2 separate regions of the Homo sapiens genome follow, and region 1 is linked to region 2. The links are contacts of gene promoters, found by promoter capture Hi-C in blood cells and fetal thymus (Javierre and others, 2016). All regions are on one chromosome and are shown on one strand. Each heading gives the region's core, a stretch centred on a gene start or on the middle of the fragment in contact. The rest is flanking DNA. Distances are from core to core; before and after follow the strand shown.

What was found. The method cuts DNA at HindIII sites, captures the fragments that hold promoters and counts their contacts. A CHiCAGO score of 5 or more calls a contact.
Region 1: a contact is called between a fragment that was not itself captured here and the fragment with the promoter of TMEM252 in region 2, in 2 of 17 cell types (naive B cells and neutrophils). The highest score is 6.1, in naive B cells.

The regions. Positions count from the first base shown.
Region 1 is chr9:68,760,364-68,765,571 of GRCh38, reverse strand. All of the region lies in intron 2 of PIP5K1B (phosphatidylinositol-4-phosphate 5-kinase type 1 beta), which reads right to left. Among named protein-coding and RNA genes, the nearest start is that of PABIR1, 17 kb to the left of the region's middle. The HindIII fragment of the contact is 1,385 bases long and covers 1,062-2,446 here.
Region 2 is chr9:68,538,012-68,542,798 of GRCh38, reverse strand. TMEM252 (transmembrane protein 252) reads left to right here and starts at 1,916. Exons shown (of 2, transcript NM_153237.2): 1 at 1,916-2,262. The coding sequence starts at 1,985. TMEM252-DT (TMEM252 divergent transcript) reads right to left here and starts at 1,774. Exons shown (of 5, transcript NR_187592.1): 1 at 1,569-1,774; 2 at 157-421. The HindIII fragment of the contact is 3,743 bases long and covers 1-2,391 here.

The DNA of each region.
Region 1 (5,208 bases), core at 505-3,004, 220 kb before region 2:
TTTGATGGAGAATTTATGTTAAAAGAAAAAAATGCATGCCTTGTACATTTAAAAATAGCTCTGGCACTTCTGCTTGGAACTTTGCTTTAATCCAACTCAGACAAGAGAACGACCATTTTCTCCATGTTGCATTAATAAAAATTTGTACTAGGCATCATTATGAAATATTTGCTAGAACACAGAATTCAGTACAGCACAGGTACACCCTCAAATTTTCAGTAAAGTATAAGCATTTTAATAAATATTTTATGACACAGTTTCATCTCCAACTGCTCCATGGAAAAGACCATTAAAATGTTACTAGTGGCAAGTTTTGTTTCATCACAATGCCAACATCTATAATGTTTGAAATATTAAAAATTAGAAGCACAGTTTTTCTCAGAGCTTTCGTTTTTAAATAAGCACCCATTATGAACAATTGTAACTGATTTCCTTTGGAGTAAAAACATGTAAACACTCACTTTTTTAAAAAAACAGTTAAGAACAAATGACCTGCAAGTGAATTCAAGATAATGAGCAGTGACTGTAGCATTCCATCAAAGCATTTTTGTTGAAATGCTTTAAAACAATATTCAGAATGCATGTTCTAAAAGGCAGGGAATTTACATGGGCCTTCTCCACTTTTTTTTAAAATAAAAATTAGTTTTATTTTAAAATTAGTTTTATTTAGCTTAAAATGCTTCAGTATTTTAAATAACCATCACTAAGGAAATCAAGGTAATTACAATTTCAAAATCAATTACAAAATCAATTTTTCTTTGCTACATTGATGTTTATGGTTAAGAGACCACAGAATGAAGGTGAGGACGAGGAAAGCTTTAGTTTATCACCTGTAACTAGCATAAATTCTTTGTCTTTGCTAGCATTATTACTTTTTGTTTTGACAAATTATTGCCTAATTTGTCTGAGCTTACAATGCTTGGTAGAATGTATAAGGTAACATTATAGCATTAAACAGTAGTATGAAAATCCAGTAAAATAAATGTTTATATCCCTAAAGCATTCACTAGAAAGATACCCAAATTCTAAAGGCCTACAGTAGTAACTTGATGAGTTAAGCTTATTATTATACAAATATAGCAACTTCATGAGACAAATTTTATACTCCCAACTCATTCATTGAACTACAGGTCCTCAAACAGAATGGATCTCAAAATCTAATGTTAGAGATGATTAAAACAACAAGTTAGGAAAATAAGATGACATTTAGAAGTGAAAATGCCATCCTATGTAATCAATAGTACTGTGAATTCTCCCACAGTGGATGGGTTGAACTGACTATTCCCAAAAATAACGCACTGTTTAGGTGCTGAATGCAATGAATAGATGAACACTATGGAGACCACTTATTGTTGAGATAAAAGTAAACCCCAAAATATCACCAAAGAGCAGCCACCTTTAAAAAAATCAAGATGAACTGGAAAACCATTGACATCTCCTGAAAGCATGCTGAAACAAAGGTGATGATTCCAAAAAAAAAAAAAAAAAAAAAAAAAAGAAGTTATAGTAGAGGGGTGTCCAAAAAAGGGATATCTGTAAAAGGAGAGGGAGGAGAAGATCAGAGTGTAACCAGCATTTCCAGAGAAGGTACCAACCAGGTCCTGTTTCTCATCTCCCTGCCAGACATGTAGTAAGTGAGCAAGGCTAATCCACCAGCCTTTCAAAGCACTCATCTACATTTACTCTGACTCTCCTCATCCTCACTTAAGAAACCATGTGATGTTCACATAGGAGCTCAAGGAGATTTACCAATTCATAGGAAGGAAATACACCACCTCATTGCCATAATTATCACAGCATGCTGAGTGGTTTCTATTTTGAGTGTAAATTGATAAAATGGCATTTTTCTTCATCAGTCTCTCTAAATGATTTCAAGTAGTATGCATCAATTCATGGGGTCTAATCAGCCTTGCTAAATGATGACACGGAGTTTATAAATCTATAGAGCTGTGAATTGTATTTTTTTTTAACATCCTTCACAATTTCCCCAGCCAACAGTATTATGTCAAAACTCCTTAGCACAGAATCTGTAGCTTTTGCCTAATTTTTCAACCTCATGTAATATCATTGTGATCATCATCATCGTCTCAAAGGCAGCTGACATTCGTTGAGTGCTTTTTTATATATCAAGCCTAACCTAAGCATTTTACTGATGATATCTCATTTAAAACTCACAAAACCCCACAAGGTAGGTAGTGTTGTTTTATTGGTTTTACTAAATGGGGAAGTAAAGCACAGGAAGGTTAAACGCTTTGCCTCATTCACATGCCCACATGAATCTCACACTTAAGTCATACTCAAATATCTGCAAGTCTTGTAAATGTAGCATGCTTTTGCATACCTCTTTTCCTCTGCACAGGCTGCTGGCTTGGCCCAGAAAATCATCCAACTTTTTCTTGTCTCACCATTTCCTATTGATCCTTCAAGACTCTGTTTGAGCAAAGCTTCCTCTGAAAAACCCAGATATCCCGGTCCATCCTAAGAAAAGTCAGATGCTCCCTTCTTCTGTGCTCTTATTACCGTATGTACCCATTCACACATAACATGAGTCTGTTTGTGAATCTGTTCCCCACTGTGCACAGCCTCTGTCATAGAGAATGCCAGGATCCTTGCATTAAGCCTCATATTCGATAACTGCGCTACTCCAGAGGGTACCACTCATATAGACTACAGAGTGAGGAAAATGTTAACACGTGGAGTTGTACAGTATGGGAGCTCTAAGGATAGTATCCCCATTGTCTTCTAAAGGAAGTGGCACATCCCATACACTCATAAACGTTTCTAAGTGACTAAGTGGCTGAAACAGAGATCACAATAAATGTGAAATGGAACTTAACCACTGAGCCCTCTTAACCAATGTATTATCCTCTAAATCAACACTTCATAAGTGCAAGTCTAAATAATACCATTAACCTAAAGATAAGTGTTAGTTCTGTTGCCCACTATAAGTACACTCAGAAAAATCTCTGGTTTATCTCTTCTATATCAGCTTCCTGTGCATTTTCTTTAAATGTTAACAATGAATTTTGAAGATTTCCTTCTAAGCCTTTGATAATGGCATAATTAATCTGCAAATAGATGTGGCATTTCCAAAGACGCAGATAATTATAGTGAGAACTACACATAACAAATCTACCCAAGAGTGGACTGAAATGCAAATTAATACAGTCTAATTTTTCTATTTTAATGAGCATGTTCACTATGGGCATTATGAATCTGTATTCAGAAAAACAACATTCCACGACTTTCAGCCACCTGCTCAGCAGGGAGAAAAAATTGCACAATGAACTTTGGCAAACATTTATGATATTTTTGATTAGAAATAAAAAAAATTAAGCTTAGATAATGCATTTTATTTCTTTTAAAAGGACATAGTTTCTGTCTTTTTGTGGATAGGAACATGATCTTAGGTAAAAGAACCTTCTACACATAACCAGCTTTAAGAAATAGCTGGAGATTGTGACAGCTTTCCCTGAAGAGAATCTCTTCAGTTAATCCAGGACATTACTTAGCCCTAATTTTTTCAGTTGATTCCTGCCATCCATTAACTAATTCAGAGTGCGAAAAGGGAACAGAGGAAAATAAATTACTAGCTCTGCAATTATTGGTTAAAACTTTAAAAACTCAGAAAGATGGCAATGCGATAGGCAGAATAATGGCTGCCAAAAGATGTCCACATCCTTACCCCTGGAAACTGTGACTATAGTCTATCACACGGCAAGGGGAATTAAGGCTGCAGGTGAAGTTAAGATTGCTAATCAGCTGACCTTAAAATAAGATTATCCTGGATTATGCAGTGAGCACAGTGTAGTCACAAGGGTTCTTTTAAGAGGGAGGCACAAGAGTCAGTGTACAAATGGTATGATGTGAGAAAGACTTAACCAGCTACTGCAGCTTTGAAGACGGAAGGAGGCCATAAGCCAAGGAATGCAGCCTAACTCTAGAATCTGGAAAAGGCAAGAAGAGGAATTCTTCCCCAGAGCCTCCAAAAGGAAGGCAGCCTTGTAGACATCTTAATTTTAGTCCAGTGAGACCAATTTTGGCCTTCTCACTTCCAGAACTATGAGATAATACATTTGCATTGTTTTAAGCCACTAATTCTGTATAAATTTGTTACAGCAGCAATAAGAAATGAATATAGGAAATTTCACCTCAGAGAAGAAATAAATTATTTCTGTAATCTCTAAAGCATGTGAGTATTTCTTCCCCCAAAGGAGAGACAAGAACTCCAGCAGACTACCATATCTTAATGATCATTGCCTTCTCTACCATAATACTTTGCAGCAATTTTATAGCAATGGTCTGAAATATATTCGAATTGGTATGGAATTTTGAGGCTTTGTGCATGCAAGATTCATTCCATTTTACAAGAGCCAGAGAGACCTCAGAGAGGAACATCTGGTCCACTCCATGTAATTAATGTGCAAATGAAAATATCCACATCAGAAGGCTTGGGTAATACCATACTCCAGGCCTCACAGCTAGTTAGTTGCATAGCCAATATAAGAATCTTCATTCTCTCTCTCTCTCTCCAATTATTCTCCAATTCCTTATGCTACTAGTAACTAGGATTAAATGCTACATATAAAACTAAAACTAAAACCAAAATGATCACTATCTGCCAGATTACAACCATCAGAAAATATGTATGTGTTTTTATGAGGTAGAACATGTCAACAGGAAAATTTGAGAATAGGACTCTTTAGAATGAAGCCAAAAATACCTTTCCATCCCCTGCCAGCAAGGCTTGGCTGAGATGAGACTTTGGCATATGCTCATTTATTTTTAGCATATTTGTGAGCTCCTACGTATTATTATGCTAATACTAGAGGCAGAGCTTTAAGCAAAATAGTCATGGTTTTTTGGACTCAAGGAGCTTACAGTCTGGAGGTGAGGACAGAGAGATAAGCAATGGGGTCTCTGTTAGCTAAACGTTAAACCACAACTTAGAGGAAGAGTCCAGCAGAGTGAGCTGACCTTCATGGTTTGTCTCTCACTCATGGACTGTCCCAAAGTCCTAACAACTAGATAGGCCAACAACTCACTCTGAGAAATGTGGGTATGAATTCTCCTTTTCACAGAACTCCAGCCTCAGCAGCTAATGAGAAACACCACTAGACACTGGTCATAGATAACTTAACTCCCACGTTTCACTGTCCACCTCCATTGCATTTCATTGGAATAGTCCTGTTTGTTTGTCTGTTTTTT
Region 2 (4,787 bases), core at 667-3,166:
TTTTATTTGTTAAAATAGTGACATCCATAAACATGAAATGATTTGATCATAATGCATTCATTGATTATGGCTCTTGCCATCTTGTGGCATCCAGGACCCTGGCTGAAACGTTTTATCTCACAGTTTCTGTGGGTCAGGAATCCGAGTATGACTTACCTGGGTCCTCTACTTCAGGGTCACTGAGTCAAGGTGATGCTTGGGAGCAGAGTCATCTCAAGGCTCAGTGGGATGAGGATTTGATTGCAAGCTCACGTGGTCATTGACAGGATGCAGTTCCTCATGGGCTGACGGACTAAGGGCCTCAGTTCTTCAGTGACTGTTGGCCAGAACCTGCCCTCAATTCCTTGCCTCATGGGCCTCTCCAATATGGCAGCTTCCTTCTTCAAAGGGCGTAAGCCAAGAGGACAATAGAGAGAGTCTGCTAGAAAGATGAAAACCACAATCTTGTGTAGCCTCCACGGAAGTAACTTCCGATCACCGTTACCATATTCTATTGATTAGAATGAAGTCACTAGGTCCAGCCTACACTCAGGGGAGAGGATTACTTACACAAGGACATGAATATCAGGAGGTGGGATCCTTAGGGATCATCTTAGAAATATTCCATCTCACAGTTTGGGGAAGGAGGGAATAAGAGCTGTTTTAAGATTACAAAGACAATATCAAGACTAGAAGATCAAGGTAGTTCAAGGTCGAAATTGAAGCTAAGAAAGGTAAAGGCTAAGGGTTGGAATGGAGAAGTGCCTTATATAGTTTTTGATCCATAGTGTGTACCTCTCTAATATCCGTGTCTCCCAGCCCTAACATGAAGGTAGAGCTAAGGAGATGGTGAGTGTGAGACTAAAGGTTATATGAGGGATTATTAGGGCACGCCACAAAAAACTGCTGCTCTCATTGGGAAAGTAAATGGAAAATAATGGTAATGGAGTAGTGGAGTGGAACAGCAGCAAAGAGGAACTGAAGATAAGCTATCCTGAGTAAAAGCAACCCAGGGTTCCTATGGGAAGGAGACTTTTGGCAGAGACATGCCACATTATCAAATAAAAAAGGGCAGAGCCAGGGCATAAAGCACGTCTGAAATAAGCTATCCACAATCAAAGACAGTCAAGCTAAAGAAAACAAATTCCAGCCAGGAAACAGAAGGCTGGTTCTGGAAAGATTTTTTGAGGCAATGCTACATAGAGCAGAGGTGTGGAGGAGAGGACAGGGAACATTTTTAGCAGCATCCTCTAAAACGAATTCTATTTCATATGTACTTTATGAAAGGGGGAAAGATTGCAGGAATTACAGGCCCAAAATCCCCCCAAATTCCCGAGGCTCTGTCTATTATAGTCCTTTTCTCCAGCACTCTCCTTTCCCTCCCACTCAGGCTCTTTCGATCTTGTCAACAGAGCAGGAACCACGAAGTTCACACTCTGAACTTCTGTCTTGGAATTATGCCAGTATCATAGTGTGGGGGCAATAAGTGGGGATTCATTGAGGGAGGCAAGACAAACATGTTAACAGCCTTGAAGAAATGCCTTTTTAGTACAGAAAAAGGGAGAAGGAATCAGGAAGGGATTTCTTACCAAACCTCAAAGAAGATCGTTCTTTAAAGAGTGCTAACTTCTCCAGCTTTTAGTGGGGAATTGCCCTCCATGGGGATTAAGAGACCAGCGCCTTTTAATCAAAGGAGGGCTGTACGTTCAAATAACTGGGAACAGCTGAGTGTCCCACCCAACTCTGAAGAACAAAACAGCTACACGAAGCCACTCCTGCCTGCAGTATACAATGCTATGTTTTTTGGCTAATTCTCCAAGGATATTACACTTACTTTCAATGGTTAATGAATAGCTTCTAAGTGCCTGTTTCATTTAGTTGTCCAAAGGCCAGTGGGTCCCAGAGCATATAAAGCTGCAAGCTGGCTAATGAGCTCATTCTCTTGGAGCAAGCAGGGAAGCAGAGGAGCAGCAGGGTCAGGGTGCTGGGTTCCTAAGGTGCAAGGATGCAGAACAGAACTGGCCTCATTCTCTGTGCTCTTGCCCTCCTGATGGGTTTCCTGATGGTCTGCCTGGGGGCCTTCTTCATTTCCTGGGGCTCCATATTCGACTGTCAGGGGAGCCTGATTGCGGCCTATTTGCTTCTGCCTCTGGGGTTTGTGATCCTTCTGAGTGGAATTTTCTGGAGCAACTATCGCCAGGTGACTGAAAGCAAAGGAGTGTTGAGGCACATGCTCCGACAACACCTTGCTCATGGGGCCCTGCCCGTGGCCACAGTAGACAGGTACGTGCTGACAGGCAGAGGGACCAAGAAGGGCTGAGATGGGCTGAGTTGTGTAAGATCTGAGTAATTTCTGATCCTACTATGGAGCGACTTACATGTCCCATGGGCTGTCTGTCTAGAACCAAAGCTTTATTGTCAGGGAATTACTCTGGGGTTGTTATTAGGAAGAGTGGCGCCATCTTTGGGGAAAACCATGACGCAGGGGCAACTCATCTCAGAGAAACCCTACCACCACCCCCAGTGAAAACCCACCTAAGCCAATTTAGAAACCCAGGCTCTTTTGTTATATCATGGCAGCTGTCATTAATTAGTGGCAGGTGATGGTTAGTTACTTCCCATAACCTGGCTATGAGGTTCTAAGGAAAGCAAGTCCCAGACCAAATTCTGCCACACAACAAATGAAGAAGCAGGCATAAAATGAGTCCTGGAATCTCTGTGAGCTCAGAAAAGTCCCAGTTTACTGTCCTTTTAGGTGTTGTGATCTCACCTTGCATAAAACATTCCTTCAGGGGAAGGTGATAATATTCTAGAGGCAAGATTCATTCTTTCTCGCCATCTCATACATTAGGATAGTTATCATCAAAAAACAAAACCAAACAGCTAGTGTTGGTGAGGATGTCAATAAATTGGAACGCTGTGCATTGCTGGTGGGAATGTTAAAATGGTGCAACCACTGTGGAAAACAGTGTGGAGACTCCTCTATACATTAAATATTGAATTACTGTTTGATCTGGCAATTCTACATTCTGAGTTTATACACAAAGGAACTGAAAGCAGGGATTCAAATGGATGTTTGTACACCAATGCTTGTAGCAACATTTATTCATAATAGCCCAAATGTCCATCAACAGGTGAGTAGATAAACAAAATGTGGTATATACATGCAATGGAATATTAGCCTTAAAAAGGAAGGAAATCCTGGCACATGCCACCACTTGGATGAAGTTGAAAACATTATGCTAAGTGAAACAAGTCAGTTACAAAGGGCAAATATTGTATAATTCCACTTACATGAGTACTTAGCGTAGTCAAATTCACAGACACAGAAAGTAGAACAGTGGTCCCAGGGGCTGGTGGAAGGAGAGACTGGGGACCTATTGTTTAATGAGTAGAGAGTTTTAAGGTGATGGTTGTAGAGCAATATGAGTGTATTTAGTGCCACTGAGCTATACACTTAAAAACAGTAAATTTTATGTCATATATATTTTACCACAAGAAAAAAAAGATTCAGTTAATCTTATAGTCAGTATCAGGCAACAAGAAACCTCCTAATTCTTGGCTAGCCACAGGACCATTTAGGGATAACACCCTAGGCATCATTCTCAAGATACAGGCTACAAGACTATAATTATTTTGCCCTCTTCGTGCAAGAGTAGAAAGTATCTAAAATATTTTAGCTACTCCATGTATCTTGAATATAAGTAATCTTACCCATGAGCATCCACTTTTGGCATCCTTTATGCTAATTAATAAGATAATAATTATGAAAACCAAAACTTATTTCCAATGTTATACTAACCAGCAGAGTTTCTGGGTTTGATTAAAAATTAAGAGAAATGAAGTGATTGTAGAAGATGCCTCTAGAGTGATGATTTCTTTTTGTATAAATGTTAGAGGACTACCTCTAGAGTGTGAATTTCTGATAAATGTAACTGATTGCCTTTAGGATATAGCTTAAATTGACTAACACTGCATAATATTACAGTATACTGAAATGTTTGAAAGTAAATTATGGACATCGTAACACCCCCATTTTACTGCCTCTTCTCGCTGCATGTAATAAGATGCTTATCCCACGCAGAATGGCTGGCAAGTCAGCCTGGGAAGTCACATTTCTCCAAAGCATTTGCACTCAAAATGGATACCCAGGTTGAGATATCAAAGCAAATGGGTCTCCGATGATGGAATTCAGGGGACTGGGAATATGGATGGCAGTTGAAGGAGGGTGGGGTTGGGAGAGGTAGCTGGGATTTGGGGCAGGCAGCAGTCATCCTGGAACCTTTCACATCACTCCAGGGAACATCTCACCTTTCTGTGTAAAATGCCTTTACACATGTGCCCCGTGACTCAGCCTTGGCTATTCTGAGCGAAGGCTGAGATTTATGCCTTATAGTAGACAGCTTCTTCAGCTACTGGCTTTGGGCCTGGTAACATTTGGAATGGAGTTGTGGCTACAAATGGCAGTCCCTGTTCTGTTGTGGTTACACACCATAAACACTCCCTGTAGGCACTGGAAGGATCACTCTATAAATACACAACTCAGCCAAGCTCACCGGTCTCTCTTCCTCCCCTCTCCCCTTCCCCCAAATTCATTCATGATGGAGAAGCCAGGAGGATTTAGCAATTAGAAATGCCAGGCAAGATGACCAATGAGTACATCAGCCCCCGAATGAATGGCTGCTTTAGCCTACTGGCATAGAAAGGGCTACAACTGAAATCTGTGTAAAGTTGTCAGTTGATATCATTTGAGAAATGAATATGTTTGTATATTTTCTTTGAAACTAGCTACTGAGTCTCGAAAGGGT